Regions from separate parts of the Homo sapiens genome. Here regions 1, 2, 4 and 5 are each linked to region 3. Evidence: promoter capture Hi-C in 16 types of primary human blood cells and fetal thymus (Javierre and others, 2016). All regions are on one chromosome and are shown on one strand. The core of a region is centred on a gene start or on the middle of the fragment in contact, and the rest is flanking DNA. Distances in the headings are between cores, read along the strand shown. Region 1 overlaps PLEKHA7 (pleckstrin homology domain containing A7). Region 2 overlaps PLEKHA7 (pleckstrin homology domain containing A7). Region 3 holds the start of USH1C (USH1 protein network component harmonin). Region 4 overlaps PLEKHA7 (pleckstrin homology domain containing A7). Region 5 overlaps PLEKHA7 (pleckstrin homology domain containing A7).

Evidence for each region. Contacts are between HindIII fragments. The CHiCAGO score rates a contact against its expected background, and 5 or more counts as called.
Region 1: a fragment that was not itself captured here is called in contact with the fragment with the promoter of USH1C in region 3 in 1 of 17 cell types (M0 macrophages); the score reaches 5.4 in M0 macrophages.
Region 2: a contact is called between a fragment that was not itself captured here and the fragment with the promoter of USH1C in region 3, in 3 of 17 cell types (naive CD4 T cells, naive CD8 T cells and activated CD4 T cells). The highest score is 5.6, in naive CD4 T cells.
Region 4: a contact is called between a fragment that was not itself captured here and the fragment with the promoter of USH1C in region 3, in 2 of 17 cell types (naive CD8 T cells and total CD8 T cells). The highest score is 6.5, in naive CD8 T cells.
Region 5: a contact is called between a fragment that was not itself captured here and the fragment with the promoter of USH1C in region 3, in 4 of 17 cell types (naive CD8 T cells, total CD8 T cells, activated CD4 T cells and 1 more). The highest score is 6.4, in naive CD8 T cells.

Annotation. Positions count from the first base shown.
Region 1 is chr11:16,952,852-16,955,551 of GRCh38, reverse strand. The region is part of intron 3 of PLEKHA7 (pleckstrin homology domain containing A7); the gene reads left to right. Among named protein-coding and RNA genes, the nearest start is that of SNORD147, 28 kb to the right of the region's middle. The HindIII fragment of the contact is 2,712 bases long and covers 1-2,655 here.
Region 2 is chr11:16,784,611-16,787,310 of GRCh38, reverse strand. It overlaps PLEKHA7 (pleckstrin homology domain containing A7), which reads left to right. Exons shown (of 27, transcript NM_001329630.2): 24 at 924-1,082. Among named protein-coding and RNA genes, the nearest start is that of C11orf58, 47 kb to the right of the region's middle. The HindIII fragment of the contact is 2,382 bases long and covers 227-2,608 here.
Region 3 is chr11:17,543,115-17,545,814 of GRCh38, reverse strand. USH1C (USH1 protein network component harmonin) reads left to right here and starts at 1,399. Exons shown (of 27, transcript NM_153676.4): 1 at 1,399-1,543. The coding sequence starts at 1,508. The HindIII fragment of the contact is 3,207 bases long and covers 1-2,700 here.
Region 4 is chr11:16,801,618-16,804,317 of GRCh38, reverse strand. PLEKHA7 (pleckstrin homology domain containing A7) reads left to right here. Exons shown (of 27, transcript NM_001329630.2): 14 at 1,023-1,091; 15 at 1,266-1,346; 16 at 2,501-2,650. Among named protein-coding and RNA genes, the nearest start is that of C11orf58, 64 kb to the right of the region's middle. RefSeq lists an enhancer at 969-2,168. The HindIII fragment of the contact is 4,430 bases long and covers 1-2,700 here.
Region 5 is chr11:16,828,321-16,831,020 of GRCh38, reverse strand. The region is part of intron 9 of PLEKHA7 (pleckstrin homology domain containing A7); the gene reads left to right. Among named protein-coding and RNA genes, the nearest start is that of C11orf58, 91 kb to the right of the region's middle. The HindIII fragment of the contact is 2,303 bases long and covers 138-2,440 here.

The sequences.
Region 1 (2,700 bases), core at 50-2,549, 590 kb after region 3:
GACTTATTTGATTAACGCAAACACCTAACTGAACCTCTACTGGGTGCCAGGCACTATACTAAATGCTGGGGAATAAAAAATGAGTAGGTCATGGTCCTTTAAGCCCAGTTCAGTGGGACAAACAGGTAAGTAAACAACCATAAGGCAACAAGTATCTTCATGAGTATTTGTATAGAACACTTTAGGGACACAGGGGCAGTTTATTCCATGGGATACAGAAAAGGGAATGCTCAATAGGAAGCAATATTTGAACTGGGCCTTGAAGGATAAGTAGGAAGTTGCCATGTTGATGGGTAGCAGAGGAATACTCCAGGAAAAACCATTCATTCATTCAGCAAGTCTCTCCTGTTAGCCTGCTGCAGCCTAAGCATCAGGGTTCATTGGGGGTTTCAGTTTTCTTCTTTGTATTCTCTAGGGCGCCTAGCATAGTGCTTTGCGTTCAACAGTTGTTTGGGAATTATTTGAGTAAATAAAAAATCCATCTGATAAGGGAATTAAAAATTACTCTGACATTTGCAAAAACTGTTTCAAATGAAACAGTATATGTGAAAATAAAGCATGAGGCCAGGCATGGTGGCTCATGCCTGTAATCCCAGCACTTTGGGAGGCTGAGGCGGGCGGATCACGAGGTCAGGAGTTTGAGACCAGCCTGGCCAACATAGTGAAACCCCGTCTCTAATAAAAATACAAAAAATTAGCCGGGTGTGGTGGCGGGTGCCTGCAATCCCAGCTACTCCGGAGGCTGAAGCAGGAGAATTGCTTGAACCTGGGAGGCGGAGGTTGCAGTGAGCCGAGATTGCGCCATTGCACTCCAGCCTGGGTGACAGAGCGAGACTCTGTCTCAAAAAAAAAAAAAGAAAACATGAGACAACTGTAAAGTATGTCGTTAATATTTAACTTTCTTGTTGTTTTATTTTGCTATCTTCCAAAGAAATTTATTTGAATAATTTCTGTGACCTTTCAAATAACTAACAGCATCCAGCATCCTATCTTATTAGTTTTTGTTTTTTTTTTTTTAAAGACAGAGTCTTGCTCTGTTGCCCGGGCTGGAGTGTGTTGGTGTGATCATAGATCACTATAACCTTGAACTCCTGGGCTCAAGCAGTCCTCCTGTCTCAACCTCCTGAGTAACTGAGACTATAGGTGTGCACTACCACACATGGCTAATTTAAATTTTTGTTGTTGTTGTTGTTGTTTTTGTAGAGATGGAGTCTCACAGTGTTGCCAGGGCTGGTCTTGAACTCTTGGCCTCAAGTAGTCCTCCTGCCTCAGCCTCCCAAAGTGCTGAGATTACAGGTGTGAGCCACTGTGCCTGGCCATTATTGGTTCTTTATTGTTTGCTCCAATAGTGCTGGATAAGAAAACATTTATAGTGATATTTTTATTTTATCTTATTTTTTGGCTATTGTTTAACAAAATATGTAAGGCCAGAAACCCTACAAATCCCTCTTGCCTTGTGGAGTGTCCTCTATCTTTGCATTGTTTGCTTCTCAACCAGTGAAGCCCTGAAATTTCCATATGACTCCCCAACTAATTGTAGCTTCCTGTGTGTGTGAGGGGTCTGTTTCTGAACTTTATATAAGTTTCTGTTCAGTCAGCCAACTTTCTAATCATGATAAAGGGCAAATTATTGTTTTATAAACCTTGTGCCATTTGTCACATTCCTGTCTTACCAGTTTCTTAAGGGAGAGGTGAAAGAAACCCATAAGCACCCTCTAAATCTGCTTTGCATTTTCCTGCACAGTGAAGAATAGACTTTTCATATGTTTGAACAGAAAAATAAACACAAACTAGAAAAACACTGCCCTTTCCAGTCAACCAAGTATACTTACCTTTAGGAGGCAGTGAAAGTGGTGCCCTTAAATACAGAATTATTTATTCAAATATTAAGAATTAATAAATAAAGGGCTCTAATATAAACTTTGTGTAAGTTTTTCTGTGTATTTCAGTGCAAAAAAATATGTAGAGCATAAAATGAAATCTACCTGTCAAGCATGTGATCCAGAATCTTGGTTTTATTACTATTCTGGAAAGCCCCGGTCCTTATCATTTGGTTTAGCTTATTTAATCTTTTAAATTGGAAATAGTGTACAAAATTGTTCTTATTGTGTTCATTTTCTTTTGGCACAAGATCTTAGGACTTTAAGTCTTACAGATTATAGTCACTGTAGGATTCACAAAAGAACTTTCTTATAACTTTCTTTGGATTCTTCATACTCATTTAAAATTTCTTATGTTCGTTTGGTTAATCAGTACAAGGCATTTTGCTGATTACTGTGAAAAAGACCAAGGTTTAAGACTGGTCTCTGAGATTGTAATCCAATAGGAACTAATAGTATCCTCACCATGCCTTTACCTTTGCTGTTTCCTGTGTCTACAGTGTCCTTTCATTGTCCCTTCCTGTGCATCTGGCAACTTAATCCTTAGCCTTTAAGGCATAGCTCAAACTTCACTGCCTCCATGAAACTTTTCTTTGACCTCCCTGTGTCATTTAGGGCAAGGGTTCCCCAAATCTTGGGCTGACCCCTTGGTGGGGAACCTCAGAATTATTGTAGTGTCAGTTGTCAAAAAAATACTATTTTCAAATATATGTAGATGCCATTGTGAAAAAGCAAATTAAAAATTTTTTAAATTTAGTTAATTCATGAAAAAGCTTTGTTGGATACATAGAGGCTTTGTTCTCTTGTGTTTTTAAAGTCA
Region 2 (2,700 bases), core at 168-2,667, 760 kb after region 3:
GGGCTTTGAGGTGGATGGATGGGAGAGAGAAGATGGCCTGGGATAGATAAGCATCTGCTTTGGTTTTGCTCAGGGGAAGAGAGGCTTTGAGCCTGCTCTGTTCTCAACAACCTGCTCAGCGGTCAAAGGCCTGTGAGGATGCAGGTCCTGGGTCAACAGGAAGTCACCACGGAGCTGGACAGTCATGGTTGGATCTTATCGGTTAGATTTTCCCTCTTGGGAAGCTTGTTACAAAGTTGATACTGTGAAACAGCCTTAGAAACATTCCATTTGATTTAGCATTTCAATTTTATATGATTTAGTTTTTTTTTCTAATTTAAAGAAAACATCTATCTCAAATAGATGGGTCTCATACAGCAGTTTTTCTGCCTCATTGGCTCCAAGCTGCTTTTGCTTGTACCTCCCCAGCCCTACTGTAAGTGCGAGATCCCCCACCTACGAATGTTATCTTGTTGAAAATTCCCAATAGAAAGATCCTTGGTTATTCTTCTTGCTTAGCAGGGCCTTGAAGGGCGTGTTTTTCCATTAATTCTGAGCCTGGGACGTATGTCTCCTGAACCAGCTGTAGAGAGTGGAAGGGACAAATCCCTTCTCTAGAACTCTGTCCCAAGTTGTTTGGAGGTCACCCTCTCTGGGAGCCTTCTATTTCCCTGGGGACCACTGTGAGCCTGAAGTCATGAGTCTTAGACCTGTGCCCCAAGGGTGTATGTTTGAAACCTCTGGGAACCCAGATCAGAGAGCACTTAGCAGTCTGGAACAGCCCATATGAAGGGGACAGCAGCTTCATTCTCTATTGCACATACAGCTTTTCCCTAAGGGGATCACAGGTTCATCTTCCAAAGGACCCCATGGAAAAAGGTGACCAGCCGGGCTCTTTCAGCAATCAGGAAGCGACTACGTTTAACCTCTTGTTCTGTTGCCAGTGGAAGCGTGAGCAGGACTTTGACCTGCAGTTGCTGGAACGGGTCGTGCAAGGGGAAAAAAAGGACAAGGAGGAGAATGGCTGGTTGAAAGTGCAGGCCATGCCTGTCACTGAGTTGGACCTGGAGCCTCAAGACTATGACTTGGACATCAGCAGAGAGGTGAGGGCAGGCACTTCCTTCATGTCCTCCAGGAGACATGGCCTTCAAGTTCCCAGCCTGATCCACCTTCCCACTGTGGGGTATCATCCTGAACAGGGACATGGCTCAGCTTCAGTGTGGCCTAGGAGGATGGATGGATAGCAGCTTAAGGCAATGAAAGGAGGCCAGATGTTTCGATGAAGGTTCAAAACTCTCTGTAATTTAGGGCAAATTGCAATTTTAGCTTCTCTGTGCTTCAGTTTCCTCAACAGTGAAGTGGGTTGTGAAGAGGATTAAGTAACTGCACATGTTCTTGGGAGGTTTAGCGATCAAAGCCACATAGTAGGCACGTGAGCAGCAGTTGTTATTGTTAGGAAATGTTCCCTGCAACACCAGGGGTTGGCTTTTCAACTGGCTGGTGAGGCCAACTTGGGCAGTCTGACTAGGGGAAAATGGGGGGCAGGTTTGAAAATCACAGGCGAAATTTCCAGCCATGGTAGAAGCTAGGAGACAGTGCAGAGTTCTGGTCTGAATTCTTCTGGTGCCCTCTGGTGGCTCACATGCATCATGACAGGGCAGGCCCAGGAGAGCAAGTAACTCCTGGATCTCTACCCATCAGGAAATGTCTCTACCCAAGGGGAGAGAAAGGGAACTCGGGATGACACACTCAGTGTCTTCAAGACGTAGATTGTCTCCTGTGGCCTATGTCGATGCTATTCCTAAGCTCTTCAGGGCAGCGTCTATGGCTGCTTGGTTCACCTTTGTATCCCTAGTCCCTGGCACAGGGCCTGGCACACAGTGGGTACGTGGTACATCTTTGCTGCATCTTTGACTGTGTTGAATGAATCACACAGTGACCCATAAATGTACCAAAAGCATTTGTACAAGGACTTGGCCTGCCTGGAAACTGCACAAGAGGAAATGTTCTCACCACATGAAGGATGGATCGAGGCGAGACCTCAATAAAACTTTCCCCCAGGTCTGTGTGATAGGAGAGTGAGAACTGAGGAGGACCTGTGTCTTCCAGAGCCTTCCTGCTGTCTTAAGAGGTGGTGCCAGGCCCATTCACAAGCTGATTTGCCAATGGTATCTACCTGACTCAGTATGTTAGGGGTTCCTCTGGTCTTTGGGAACAAAGGAACAGTGTGTGGATAAGATAGATGCCTGTACAGTTGTTGAGTTTTGGGGTCTGCTGGGGCTCTAGGAGTTAACAAGGCTGGTCCCCTGCCCCAAGACCTTGTTCCTTTGCCATCTGAAACAGCCAAAGGTCTGTGCGTTCTCAGATTCACAAAAGAAGCCCCAACATGCTGCCTTGGCAGGGGAAGTGTGTTCTGTAGTGTCCTGATTGCCTGCCAGCCCAGGGAAAAAGTTCTTCCTTATCTCTAACCTAAATTCCTCCTGCTACAATGTAATCTGCTTCCTTCCTCTAAATCTGTCCTCATTGGAGTAACAGAGAAGAGCTTATTTCTTGCCATCTCCAACAGAGTGAAAGGGCTGCGTGTGGGTTTAAATCCATGACCTGATTTGCCCTGGGATTGGATTAAGCTTGTTTTTAGGAGCTTCAACCCACCCCATTTTAGTGTGCTTTTGTAATTCAGGGAGGAAAAAGTTCCTGGAGCATGCAGAAGCTTCCTTTCGT
Region 3 (2,700 bases), core at 150-2,649:
AACAAAAATAGTGTGCTTGTAAAACTTCAGCTATTGGGGAGAGGGACGCAGAGGGGTGTTTAGGTGCCCCAGAGTTACAATTGTAAGTGGTTACCTGATGTAAGCTGCTGTCCATCTCCTTGCCCCTGCCCTTGACAGGGCACAAAGGGCTCAGGTGCCTCCCTGGGTTAAGTTCAGGCACAAGCCCCATACTTAGCCTCTGATTTACACATTTTTATCACCCCTCTCCTAGCCCCTCTTTCCTTTCATCTCTTTCCAGGCCTGGTTCATCATTGTCTTTGATGAATCTTTCCTTTCATTCCTTTCCAGGCCTGGTTCATCATTGTCTTTGCACCAAGCACTAGACCTAGGAGTTAAGCAAATGCTGACCAAATTGAATTAAATGAACCAGAGGGTCTGGGCCCTGGGTGAAGGTCAGCCATAGATCAAAATGTCACTGCCAGGCTCTGCCAGGCTTCGATGGATATGTGAGTGTGTTGGGTTTGGGTTTTGTTTTGTCTTGTTTTGTTGGGGGTGGAGGTGTTAGGGAAGGTGGGAGGGGAAATCAGTTGAGGGGGGCACTCTCACACACACTGATTCAGACCCCTGCGGCCCACAGTAAAACCCAGCCCTGTCCCCAAGGAATTCACAGAACAAGGATTGATTTCTCCCTGGTGGAAAAGTGCAGGAGGAAGCCAGGACTGAAGGTACGCTGGAGGTGAGGGCGTAGCAAGGGCTGACAGTCCAGGAGGGCCATGAACCTCGACAAGAGTATCCAGAGAAGGCCGGGCGCGGTGGCCCGCGCCTGTAATCCCAGCACTTTGGGAGGCCGAGGTGGGCAGATCACGAGGTCAGGAGATCGAGACCTTCCTGGCGAACACGGTGAAACCCCGTCTCTACTAAAAATACAAAAAAAAAAAATTAGCCGGGCGTGGTGGCGGGCGCCTGTAGTCCCAGCTACTCGGGAGGCTGAGGCAGGAGAATGGCGTGAACCCGGGAGGCGGAGCTTGCAGTGAGCCAAGATCATGCCACTGCACTGTAGCCTGGGCGACAGAGCGAGACTCCGTCTCGGGGGGGAAAAAAAAAGAATATCCAGAGAAAACGGACTAGATTGCCCCGCCCCCCGCCCGTGTAAATAGTTTCCGTATCTCTCTATTCCGGTCCCCACAAAAAAGTCCCAAACCTCCTCCCTACGTCTCCACGATCTTCTTCCTCAAACGCATGTGTTCAGGTACCACTTCCAGAGAAATACCAGCTTGAAGCCCAGCTACTGCCACCTCAGGCCCATAGGCACACTGGGGCCCATTTGCTCCCAGGCTTCAGTGGGAGGCGACGACTCAGCACCTTCGACTCCAGCCTCGCAGCGGCCCCGCCCCACAGAGGCCTGGCCCCGCCCCTCCGCGCTCAGGCCCCGCCCCCAGCTCCGAGGGCGGCTGGCCCGGTCGCGGTCGCGGCTCTTTCCAGCTCCTGGCAGCCGGGCACCCGAAGGAACGGGTCGTGCAACGACGCAGCTGGACCTGGCCCAGCCATGGACCGAAAAGTGGCCCGAGAATTCCGGCATAAGGTCAGAGCTGCAGGGCGCCCCAGGCTTCTGGGACTCCGGAGTCCTGGGCGCGGTGGGTAGGGGGTGGACACCCCGGCACTGCCCCTCCCTTTTCCGGCCCCACCTGATGGCTCTGGTTGGGCTGGGACACCCGAGGGTCGTCTGGCTGGCAGCAGGGATCCCCAGTAAAGTGAGGGAGGGAATGCGGGGACTCCCGGCTCAAGGACTGCTAAACGAGTCGATCTTCTGCCAGCCTTTCTCCCTCTGCCTTCCAGGGGCAGGGACGTCTCTGGGGTTTGAATTCCTTCCAGTCTTGGCCGCTTTTCTGAGGTGCCCCCTTTGTGGGCAAGCCCCTCTCCTTCCTAGTGCCCCCAGCTCAGGGCTGTTGAGGCATGTGGAGACAGTCTGGGGCAGTATCTGAGAGGTGAGGGTTGGGAGAAGGGAAACTAGACGTCTCTCTCTCTGCCTTTTGACCTCAGAACATGAGTTAGAAGCATTTCAGCCCTGCCTGCCTAAGGGCGTTTCTTAGGGTCTGAGAAGTAGCTGAGGAGCTGGTGCTGACCCGGGTGCGGTGGGGAGGAAGGGAGGAGGTACTGAGGGCGTCGGAGCTGGGCTCTGGCCGGCCAGATCCTTCAGGCAGAGCCGGGTCCACCCTGGTGTGTCCCAGTGAGGGGCCTCACTGGTGGTCTGGGATTCTCAAGGACCATCTCTGGAAGTGGCCAGGTTTCACACAGGGCATTTCGAGAATGATTCACAAAGCTGTGCAGAATCTGCTGAGGCCCTGAGACCAGAGAGGGCCATCAAAGAGATCCAGCCTACTTCCCCACCAAGTCTTAGGATGCCTCTGAGTCTGGGGATGAAGCCGCTTGGGGGGGGTGGGTGGTATCTGGAGCTCCCCACAGGCCCTGCCTGAGGGGCAGGTAACTATTGATAACTTAACTATTGATAACTGTGTGACCCAAGGCTCTCCCAAAGACCCCAGGGGCAGTGTCTTTAGACCAAGCCAAACCTCTTCCTGGTTTGAGAGCTGAGCTCAGGTAGGGCAGGTCAGGGTGCTTAACTCCTTCCTTCCCATAAAGAGGCCCATAGGAGCCCAAGGAGCTAGCCAGTGTAGGGGCCACAGGGGCTTGGGGCCAAGGGCCCGGGGTCAGTTATTCATTTAATAAGCATGTTTTGAG
Region 4 (2,700 bases), core at 85-2,584, 740 kb after region 3:
TGCATAGCACACACACACCACCTGTCTCTGCCACTGTTAGCTCCACCCTCCATTTTCCTGGTCAGATCTGCAAAATAGAGCTCAGTGAGGTGGTTTCCCCTACATTAGGCAAAATAGACTTGGTTCTCCCTGGCCTTATCTTGGCCATGGGAGGGTGCATCTGTGAAAGTCACTCCCCTCAGCCCCTGCATGACTTTTGGCAAGAAAGAAATTGGGGGAAATGGAAAAATGGGATAAGTAAGATTTAGATTCTCAGGAGTCAGTGAGAGACAGGCAGCATATTGCCTACTTTGAGTCAAGTGAGGGATGGGAAATGTAAAATCCCATTGGCCCGCAAGTTTGGGTGACTTTTGTATATTGCTTTATGGTTTCCTTTCTTGTAACTTACACAAGTACAGCCTAGCCTCAGTTATTCAGGGAACAATTAAAAACCCTTGCTGGGAACTAGCCAGGTTCCTTTTTACCTTGGCCAGGTCTTCTTCCCAAATGGTAAAGGGTAAGGAAGGCTGGCCTTACCCACGGGGAAGTGGGCTGCTCAGAGACTTCATTAAACTAAGGCTTGACAATGGTCAAGGGATTTGTTTGTTCCTCTGGGTCTGCCCATCTCACCACCCTGGGCAGGGGGTGATGGGCTTCGTAACTTGTGTTTGTTCCCACGTTCAGTAGTACACCTCTGTCTTATCGGTGGCAAATCTTCCAAGATTCATGCTGATTTTTCACATTCATTTTAGGCAAATATATACTTTTAAAATTGATGATCCTTTAACTTGAACATCTACATTTTCTTTAACTCAAAGGACTTACCAGCATTACTAGAATCATCAAAAGGTTTTGGTTTTTTCCTAAAATGAAATAGGCATAGAAATAGCGAAGTATGGCCCAAGTTTTTGTCCCTCTCATACTATGACCCTACCTGCCACTGCCAAGGACTTCCACACCATCCATTATAGGATGAATTTTCTTTCCTGAGTTCTGATCTCAAACACCATGGTTAAATCTCTTTTAAATTGTTCGCCTCCCAGATGACAGGCCGGGACCTTCTCAAGGATCGAAGTCTGAAGCCTGTGAAGATCGCTGAGAGCGACACTGACGTGAGTGAGCAGAGTGACACGCTGACCCCTCAGCTGCCTCCTGACCCAGACCCCGGGTGAACAGCTTCAGGCAGGGCTTGGATGGTTCTGTAGCCAAAGGCTGTCTGATTGCAATCCCAAGGTCATGTCCTTTTCTCATCACCCCAGGCCCTCTCCACCTGTTCTTGCTTTTAGGTCAAACTGAGCATCTTCTGTGAACAAGACAGGGTCCTCCAGGACTTGGAAGACAAGATACGAGCCCTTAAAGAGAACAAAGTACGTGTCAGTTTTGAATAATCTTGGAATGGGCAGAGGGACATTTTGTCCTGTCTTTCTTGAGACATAGGCTGGACCCTCATGTTAGTATTGAAGAGCAGATGTTAGCTTATTTAAAAAAAAATGCACCAGGTGCGGTGGCTCATGCCTGTAATCTCAGCACTTTGGAAGGCCAAGGCAGGTGGATCATGAGGTCAGGAGTTCGAGACCAGCCTGACCAACATGGTGAAACCCTGTCTCCACTAAAAATACAAAAATTAGCTGGGCATGGTGGTGGGCACCTGTAATCCCAGCTACTCAGGAGGCTGAGGCAGAAGAATTGCTTGAACCCGGGAGGCAGAGGTTGCAGTGAGCCGAGATCACGCCACTGTATTCCAGCCTAGGCAACAGAGGAAGACTTCGTCTCAGGAGGAAAAAAAAAAAAGCCTTTGTGTTTAAATGGTGTTTCTTAGGGGTTTCTATCTTATAGAGACCCTCCTGCCCCCATTCTGCTTTGGCTTACCTCTCCGTGGAGGCCCTGTGAGGTGAGCCTGGGAGAGGAGCTCCACTGGCTTATATGTGATGACCCCAGGTCCCTGAACCCCAGGGAAGCAGGGTTCCTTTGGAGGAAGTGGCTGTAGTCATTACAGGGCAGAGGCCTTTGCTTCCTAAAGCTCCTTGTCTCCTAGGATCTGGGCTATGGAGGCAGCAAGTCTGGATGGGAGTGCCGGAATGGGCCAGGGGCCACCAACATTTGGCCTTTTCTATTCTTAAAGTATTTTTTTCCTTTTGCATTTTAAATTCGTGATGCTGGAGGTTGACAATATACTCTTTTCCCTAGGAGGCTAAAGAGGTTTTTGTTTTTTGTTTTTTTAATTCTTTGATTTATCCTCTTAGCTTAGTTTATTCTCTTAGTTTATCCCATAAGGAGTTAGACAGCTGTATCCCTAGTTTATAGATGACAAAATTGAGGCACAGAGCTGTTAGGTACTTTCCCCAGCCTACTCCCTAGACAGAGTCAGAGCTGGCATCAGAGCCCCGACTGTGGGCCCACATCTCAGCGCTGATCCCTTCGGCCTTGGTTAGGTCCAGTAGCTTTGGTTCCTGGTGTGGTATGGGGAGGCCTCTGGGGACTGTCCTCCTATCCTGCTGTTTTTTGGCCCTTCGTGGTGCAGGACCAGCTAGAATCTGTGCTGGAGGTGTTGCACAGACAGATGGAGCAGTACCGAGACCAGCCCCAGCACTTGGAGAAGATTGCCTACCAGCAGAAGTTGCTGCAGGAGGACCTTGTCCATATCCGAGCTGAGCTCTCCAGAGAGTCCACTGTGCGTAGAGGGTGGCAGACCTGTCTCCCTCAGGACGGGCTGAGCAAGGG
Region 5 (2,700 bases), core at 40-2,539, 710 kb after region 3:
TGGTATTAATTTAAAGAAAATGATTTATCATCCTCTGTCAAATTTATTTCCAGGAAGCACTGGCATATATGGAAGTGTATATACTCATGTACATACATAGTAAGGACTAAGAATTATGGTTAAATTAGCTCCAAGCTTAGGGAAGACTAACAGACTCCATGATTTGAGGGTCAGGTGTTTATGGGAACAGTATTCAATGTGGTTACCATAATTAAGTTGGGCTCCAGGGTTGTCTGACTTTGAAGGCAAAGGCTATTTTCTTTGCTACTCTCTTATAGTCCCAGGTGCCTGTCCCAGTGGGGGCTGTATAGGTGCTTGGTAAATACATGGTGAATGGTTAGGGAAGGAAGAAAAATCCACATTACAATTGGTTGGACTGAGACATTGTGCCCACAATCTTTGGGTCCCAGAGTTGAAGAATCCTTCATTTCCTCTCAATTCTAATGTCATACACATAGGTGGCATATTTGTTTCACTGTCTGGCTTTTATGACAAGGTGCTCTTTATCTTTGGAGTGTGAATAACAAGGAGATACAATTACCTGGGTATCACAATTGGAGTAACCACTTAGAAATATCAGAGCAAGTGAAACCAAAGCAGCATGCAAGATTCTAAATCTTCAGCGACTTGGCCAGGGTGTGATCCAGAGGGCAGCTGGAGCCTTCATCATCTCCGAAGTAGCCTCAGCACATCCTCTATGGGTAGTTTCCTGGATGTGAGAAATAATAAAGAAAATAGGCCTGGCACAGTGGTTGGTGCCTGTAATCCCAGCACTTCTGGAAGCTGAGGTGGGAGGATTGCTTGAGCTCAGGATTTCAAGACTAGCCTGGGCAACAAAGAAAGACCTTGTCTCTACAAAAAAAAAAAATTAAAAATTAGCCAGACATGGTGGCAGGCGCCTGTGGTACCAGTTACACAGGAGTCAGAAGTGGAAGGATCACTTGATCCCAGGAGGTTGAGGCTGCGGTGAGCTCTGTTCACGCTAGTGCATTCCAGCCTTGGTGACGGAGTGGGACCCTGTATCAGAAAAAGAAAAAAAAAAAGAATGGCCAACTTAGGCAACTTGAGGACTGTTGGTTCAGTTTACACTAATCTAGTTATGGAGGCTTAAAGGGAGAAAGGAAAGACAAAGCTAAAACCTATCGTGTGAAAAAAAGAAAAAAGAAAAAAGAAACCTGTCATATGTACATTGTGGAACAGAGTTGTCCCTTTATAAACTTACGGTAAGAATTACTTTTTCTTTTTTGAGGCGGAGTCTTGCTCTGTTGCCCAGGCTGGAGCACAGTGGTGCAATCTCAGCTACTGCAACCTGTGCCTCCCAGGTTCAAGCGATTCTCCTGCCTCAGCCTCCTGAGTAGCTGGGGCTACAGGTGCACACCACCATGCCCAGCTAATTTTTGTATTTTTAGTAGAGATGGGGTTTCACCATGTTGGTCGGGCTGGTCTTGAACCCCTGACCTCAGGTGATTCACCTCCCTTGGCACGCCACTGCACCCGGCTGAATTACTTTTTCTGTAAGTATGGGCTCCTGAATATTTCCCGTATTTTCCTCCTACTGGAATTTATAGAGCCACTGAATGTTAACAATGAATGGGCCCTCACTCATTACTATCTCAATATGTCATTGTGAAATGATTAATAGGCAGGACCCCTTTCAGTATAAGTAGCAGAAACCAAACTCTAACAACTGAAAAAGGGAATTTAGGCCCCCGGCAGGGTGGCTCACGCTTGTAATCATAAAACTTTGGGGGGCTGAGGCAGGTGGATCACTTGAACCCAGGAGTTTGAGACCAGCCTGGGCAACATAGCAAGACCCAGTCTCTACAGATTTTTTTTTTTTTTAATTAGCAGAGCTAATTAAAACATGCATGCACCTGTAGTCCCAGCTACTCAGGAGGCTGAGGTGGGAGGATCACTTGAGCCCAGCAGATCAAGGCTGCAGTGAGCCGTGATCATTGCCACCGCACTCCAGCCTGGGTGAGAGAGCAAGACGCTGTGAAAAAAAAAAGAAGGAATTTATTTATTCACAACCAGAAAATCCAAAGAGATATCTGGTTTACATATGGTTAGATGTAGGAGCTTAAGCCAAGTTTTTAGGATTCTATGTTTCTCCATCTGCTTTCCTTTGTGTTAACTTCATTCTCAAGTAGTGCCTTCCCACATAGTTGCAGCAGCTCCAACCCAAGTCCCAGGGCTAACTCTGATTGGCCTGGAGTAGTCAACTCCTGAACCAGTCACTGAGACTGTGGAGCCTCAGCTGGACAGGGAGTCAGCAGCACCTGAACCACCTGGACTGAGGGTAGGAGAAAGTGATTCCCAAATGAAAATTGAAATGCTGTTATCAGAAGGGCAGTGGATACAGTGTGGGGGTTGGAGAGGAAAGATGTCCTCTGTTGGATAAAAGGAGTTCCAAAGATGCATTATTTTTTTCCACAAAGCTTGGGGTTTCCATGGAAAAGACATTGGTACGTGAACAGCGAGAAGAATGCTTGCTTTTCTCAGTTCTCTCTGTATATTAGTCCATTCTCACACTGCTATAAAGAACTGCCTGAGAATGGGTAATTTATAAAGGAAAGAGGTTTAATTGACTCACAGTTCCACATGGCTGGGGAGGCCTCAAGAAACTTACAATCATGGTGGAAGGGAAAGCAAACATGTCCTTCTTTGCATGATGGCAGGAAGGAGAAGTGCCAAGCAAAA